Linked DNA regions of Homo sapiens: region 1 is linked to region 2. The links are contacts of gene promoters, found by promoter capture Hi-C in human tissues and cell types (Jung and others, 2019). All regions are on one chromosome and are shown on one strand. The core of a region is centred on a gene start or on the middle of the fragment in contact, and the rest is flanking DNA. Distances in the headings are between cores, read along the strand shown.

Region 1 (2,866 bases), core at 52-2,551, 200 kb after region 2:
ATAAGTGATGACTGCCCACTAAAGGCTTTGCCACACTCATTGCACTTATAAGGATTTTCTCCAGTATGAAGTCTATGATGGCATACAAAGGATGACATATGACTGAAGGTCTTGCCACACTCATTGCACTTGTAAGGTTTCTCTCCACTATGAAGTCTATAATGGTATACAAAGGATGACATATGACTGAAGGTCTTGCCACACTCATTACACCTGTAAGGTTTCTCTCCAGTATGAACTCTCTGATGTTGTGCAAGGTTTGACTGTTGATTAAAAACCTTGCCACATTCATTACACTTGTAAGGTTTCTCTCCAGTATGAATTGCCTTATGAATTAGAAGGGATGAATTTCGAGCAAAGGTCTTGCCACACTCATGACAGTTGTAAGGTTTTTCTCCGGTATGAAGTCTACGATGGCCCACAAGGGATGACTTCTGACTGAAGGTCTTGCCACACTCATTACACTTGTAAGGTTTCTCTCCAGTATGAAGCCTATAATGACATGCAAGGTGTGCTTTTTGATTAAAAACCTTACCACATTCATTACATGTGTAAGGTTTCTCTCCAGTATGAACTCTCTGATGTTGTGCAAGGTATGAATCACGCTGGAAAACCTTGCCACATTCATTACATGTGTAAGGTTTCTCTTCAGTATGAACTCTGTTATGGCGTGAAAGGCATGAATTATGCCTAAAAGCTTTGTCACAAACCTTACATTTGTATGGTTTCTCTCCAGTATGAATTCGCCTATGTGTTTCAAGTTGTGATCTGCAACTGTAAACTTTGTCACATCCTTCACATTTGTAAGGTTTCTCTCCAGTATGACGTCTACGATGCCCTACAAGGGATGACGTCTGACTGAAGGTCTTACCACACTCATTACACTTGTAAGGTTTTTCTCCAGTATGAAGTCTATGATGGCGTGTAAGAGATGACTTGTGACCGAAGGTCTTGGAACACTCATTACACTTGTAAGGTTTTTCTCCAGTATGAACTCTATGGTGCCATGCAAGGTATTGCTTTTGATGAAACACTTTGCCACATACATCACATTTATATTGTTTCTCTCCTGAATGGGTTACATGATGTCTTCTTAAATGTGAGCTATAATTAAAGGCTTTGCCACACTCATTACATTGGAAAGGTTTTTCTCTCATGTGTTCTTCCTGGATTTGTGTCAATAATGAAGAATGGAGAAAGTTCTTCCCATACCTATTAGAAATATGGGTTTTGAGCCTACAAGAAATTCTTTGGGATGTTGAAACCAAGGAAGCATTGTTGATAGACTTCTCCACTTGATTATCAATTTTCCCTTCAGTCTGAAATTCGTGCAGTTCAGGCAGATGTGAATAAAAGCTTGATCCAAGCTGATCTTTAATAGGCTTGTTTCCAGCATGCCTTTGATCACGTCGGTCTGTACTACCAGTCAACTTTTTGATTTTTGTCATGGGTGCTTCATGGCCATTTCTTTTAATTTCTTGCCACTGAAACTCAAAGTCATGAATATCTTTCTTGATTTCTGGGAAGCAAAAATCTCCAATGTGATGACTTTTATGTCTTTGCAATGTCCCTGTGTGGATCACTTCTCCTGTATTACCGTGCCCTGTTGATGAGAACTCCGTCATGGATTTTAAAGAGCTATCTAAAAAATATAAAGACCAATAGGTTTCCAATTAAGTACAGATGGTAAATAATATTTAATACTGAAATGTGTTAATATTACACAAAAAGCAATACTTATTTTAAAATTCCCAAATATGATCTTCAAAGTTTAAGAACACCCTGTCTCTATTAAAAATACAAAAATTAGCCAGGCATGGTGGTGGATGCCTGTAATCCCAGCTACTCAGGACGCTGAGGCAGGAGAATTTCTTGAACCTAGGAGGCAGAGATTGCAGTGAACAGAGATCACATCATTGCACTCCAGCCTGGGCAACAAGAGCAAAATTCCATGTCAAACAGAGTTCAGTCAAGAGCCTCATATATATGATGCAGTAAGCCTGAATGATGTCCTCCCTAAGAGGAATTTCTACAGCAGTGACTGCTGTTTAGAGAACATGATCATTAGTTTATGTGATGATCACTGTCACAGTACCAGTGAGAGATGCTTCTGTGATGCTCCTTAAAAACCAGAACAAAAGGCCAAGGGTGGTGGCTCAGGTTTGTAATCCCAACACTTGGCTAGAGGCTGAGGTGGGCAGATTGCTTGAGACAAGGAGTTTGAGACCAGCCTGGCCAACATGGTGATTCCCCATCTCTAATAAAAATACAAAAATTAGCAAGGCATGGTGACTTGCATCTGTAATTCCAGTTAGGTTGGGAGGCTGAGGTATGAGAATTGCTTGAATGCAGGAGGCGGAGGTTGCAATGAGCTGAGATCACAACAGTGCACTCCAGCCTGAGCAAGAGAGGGAGACTCTGTCTCAAAAAACAAAACAAAACAAAAGCAGAATCACAGCTGGAAACACTTGTCAGTCACTGTCATGCTTTCTAGCTCATCTCCTGGGCCACCCTGACAATTCTGCTCAGGGCTACCAGGGGCATCTCTGCTTAGAGCAGGATGACGTTCAATTCTATTAGTCAAAGTGTTCATGAATGTTCTGTTTTTATGTAAAACCACTCCATAGGATAGTCTCTAAGAAGCTGTCTATGACAGACAGGAGGATCATCACTGCAGAAAACAATGACATGTACATCAAAAGCATGTATGCGGCAAAATCACAAAAGAGAATACAAAACCAGGAAGAGCCAAGATAGACAAGGGCAGATTCCTCACATCAGGAGGGACATTTTCCTCACCCACAGACTCCAGGTTCCTGTAGTTCTCCAACATCACGGCCCTGTATAAAGCCCTCTGTGCAGGGTT
Region 2 (2,742 bases), core at 92-2,591:
AAATGTACATCAATTACAGATTAAAAAAAAAATCCTGTATTATTTAACTCAAGAAATGATACCCCTTCAGCAACTTAAAAAAAAAAGTTTGTTTTTGTTTTGTGCGTGTGTGTGTTTTCTTTTTTTTGTTTTGTTTTTTTGGAGACGGAATTTCACTCTTGTTGCCCAGGCTGGATGGCAATGGCCCGATCTCTGCTCACCGCACCTTCCAACTCCTGGGTTCAAGCAATTCTCCTGCCTCAGCCTCCCGAGTAACTGGGATTACAGGCATGCGCCACCACGCCCGGCTAATTTTGTATTTTTAGAAGACACAGGATTTCTCCATGTTGGTCAGGCTGGTCTCCAACTCCCAACCTCAGGTGATCCGCCCGCCTCGGCCTCGCAAAGTGCTGGGATTACAGGCGTGAGCCAACGTGCCTGGCCCTGTGTGTTTTATAAGAGAGACTGGGACTCACTCTGTTGCCCAGGCTAGTCTTGAACATTTAGCCTCAAGTGATCCTCCCATCTCAGCCTCCCAAAGTGCTAGGATTAGAAACATGAGCCAACACACCCAGCCAAAAATCGTCTTTTCTATTTACATTCAGAGTGCGTGTAAATTTGAAATTCACTCTACGTATCGAAATTATTGACATTATGATGTCAATAAAGTTTATCGCAGAGACGTTTGAGGTTAATTCATCTGAAGTTTGGAATAGAGTAACAGGTATAAGGGAGAGCTATTTATATCTATTGTTTAAAAGTTTAAGAGTCATTTATATCTATCATCTAAAAGTTTTAGCTTTCCTTTTTAAAAGCAACATTTGGTGACCTAACTTATCCCTGGCGTTAACCCTCCATGCCCAAGGCGTTGTCCCTGGGAAATTGTCAGGAGCTGAGCACAGGGTTGATCCTCACCCTCCAGAGTGTAGGGGGAATAGAAAAGGAGAGGATTTCTACTCTGTTCTGTGGGACGACAGCATCAAATTGCATGTTCCGCCCAGGCAGGGCTTTGCATTTCATATTCTAGTTCGCTTCCTCTCCCAGACAATTCCAGGGCTTTTAAATTAAAATACTAAAATTAACTTTAATTGCAGGAACTATCTTAGGTCCAATCACTGTCCCCTACTTTGACCCTCTCATAGAGATCCCAGGTCCCAGACTGCTTGGCTGCTGGTCACCGATAGGGTCTTTCCTCAAAAACCTGGAGAACAGACGCGCCCAGAGACAGGCCGAAGGCAGCGCAGACCCCGCCCCTCACCGCCCCACCCTCTCTTCTCTCGGGTCTCGCCCATCCCTGGCCTCAGCTGCGCGCGGTTTCCTGGAAACCCGGAAGTGAATCATGGGGCGTGAACTCGCAAGCGCAGTTTCCTGAAGACCCGGAAGCCGATCGCGTGGGGAGCCGGTCTTGGAGCAGCGGGTGAGTTTCCCTTTGTCTAGATTAGATCCGCTTCCAGCGCTTCTGTACCTGGTGTTGGCGGAGGGGTTCTTACGGATCTTAAAATCCTCCCGCCGTTCCCTCCATCCTAGGTATATTAATACGTCGCCAAGAAATTCGGAGGTTAAAATCGCTTGGAGGCTGCTGGTCCTTTCCCTGAGCTCTCTGCCTTCGGGCCACGTAGACGCTTTTCGTCCCGTTTACCTGCTTAAAACCCTTTACTGACCACTCCTTCGGTCCCGCGTCATGTAAAAGCCCTCACCCATGAGGTGTATTCACGCCCAGTGGGTCCTCCAAGCCTCGCCCTTCTGGCCTCTTGGAGCTCGGTCCCGCAGTCTCGATGCATCAGCGCCGTGTCCTCTGCCCGGCCCTGGGATTTTGGAAACCCCACCCCTCTCCTAATCCACCCCCAACCTTGTCCTCCTTGGGCTGGGCCCTTGTGTTCCCCAGGTTTCCCCTTCACAACCCACATTCCTTACCCCGCATTGAGGGAGGTGACGGGGCCTGGCTTTTGACACTCAGTGTTTTTCCGTTCCAAATTGCACCCGCTGGAAAATGTGCTCTTCCAGAGGAAAAACGATTGATTTATTCTTTCCTCCTCTGAAACTCAACACGGTAGTAAACACTGAACCCAGAATACTTCACTTGTGGTCACCGAATGTGTGGGGATTTCTCCCCACTAACAAGCAGTTCTCTATCAGACATCAACTCGGTGTCCCATAATTTACCTCACTTCTGACAGCTGTACCTGGTGTAAGCATCGGATCCCACAGATTAAAGGCTCAGTCCACAAGACTTCTCCACTTCAGATGTCGGTTACAAGTCCCAGATTGGAACCTGAACTTCTAAGCTACTGGATATAAATTGAGGATTCCCATGACCCAGTCTTCAGTATTTATTAATTTGCCAGAGTAGCTCACAGAACTCAGAAACGTTTTAGTTGGGTTTACTCATTTGTTTTAAAGGATATTACAAAGGTTGCAGATAGACAGATGGAATAGCAGTTCTAGAAAATTAGTTGAATGCAGGAGAGGATTTGGGAACCGTGGTGTTTATCTGGTCAGTCAGAAGTAGAGGTGAAAACTACTACTTGTGTACAGCTTCTAAGGTGAAGGGTAGTCTTGTGGGACTGAGCTTTTCACCCATGGGATCTGACACTATCTCCTTGTAGATAGTGTAAGAATTGAGTTAAATTTTAGGATTCCCAGGTGGAAGTCTGCAAGGAACTGGTCAGTGTAGGGAAACCACACATTTTCTTGACCAGAAGTAAAGTATCCTGTGTTGAGCACGAGAGCAATGAAAACAGTTTGGTTTTTTCCTGTCTCAGT

Evidence for each region. The method cuts DNA at HindIII sites, captures the fragments that hold promoters and counts their contacts. A contact is called where the count stands out against the background at its distance.
Region 1: a fragment that was not itself captured here is called in contact with the fragment with the promoter of ZNF578 in region 2 in 2 of the 25 tissues and cell types used here (liver and small bowel).

Annotation. Positions count from the first base shown.
Region 1 is chr19:52,652,762-52,655,627 of GRCh38, forward strand. It overlaps LOC122539214 (Zinc finger protein LOC122539214), which reads right to left. Exons shown (of 4, transcript NM_001396016.1): 3 at 2,800-2,866; 4 at 1-1,642. It also overlaps a transcript of ZNF83 not described here. Among named protein-coding and RNA genes, the nearest start is that of ZNF83, 16 kb to the left of the region's middle. The HindIII fragment of the contact is 5,670 bases long and covers 1-2,866 here.
Region 2 is chr19:52,452,212-52,454,953 of GRCh38, forward strand. ZNF578 (zinc finger protein 578) reads left to right here and starts at 1,342. Exons shown (of 6, transcript NM_001099694.2): 1 at 1,342-1,396. It also overlaps a transcript of ZNF534 not described here and the pseudogene LOC441862. RefSeq lists an enhancer at 784-1,983. The HindIII fragment of the contact is 17,654 bases long and covers 1-2,742 here.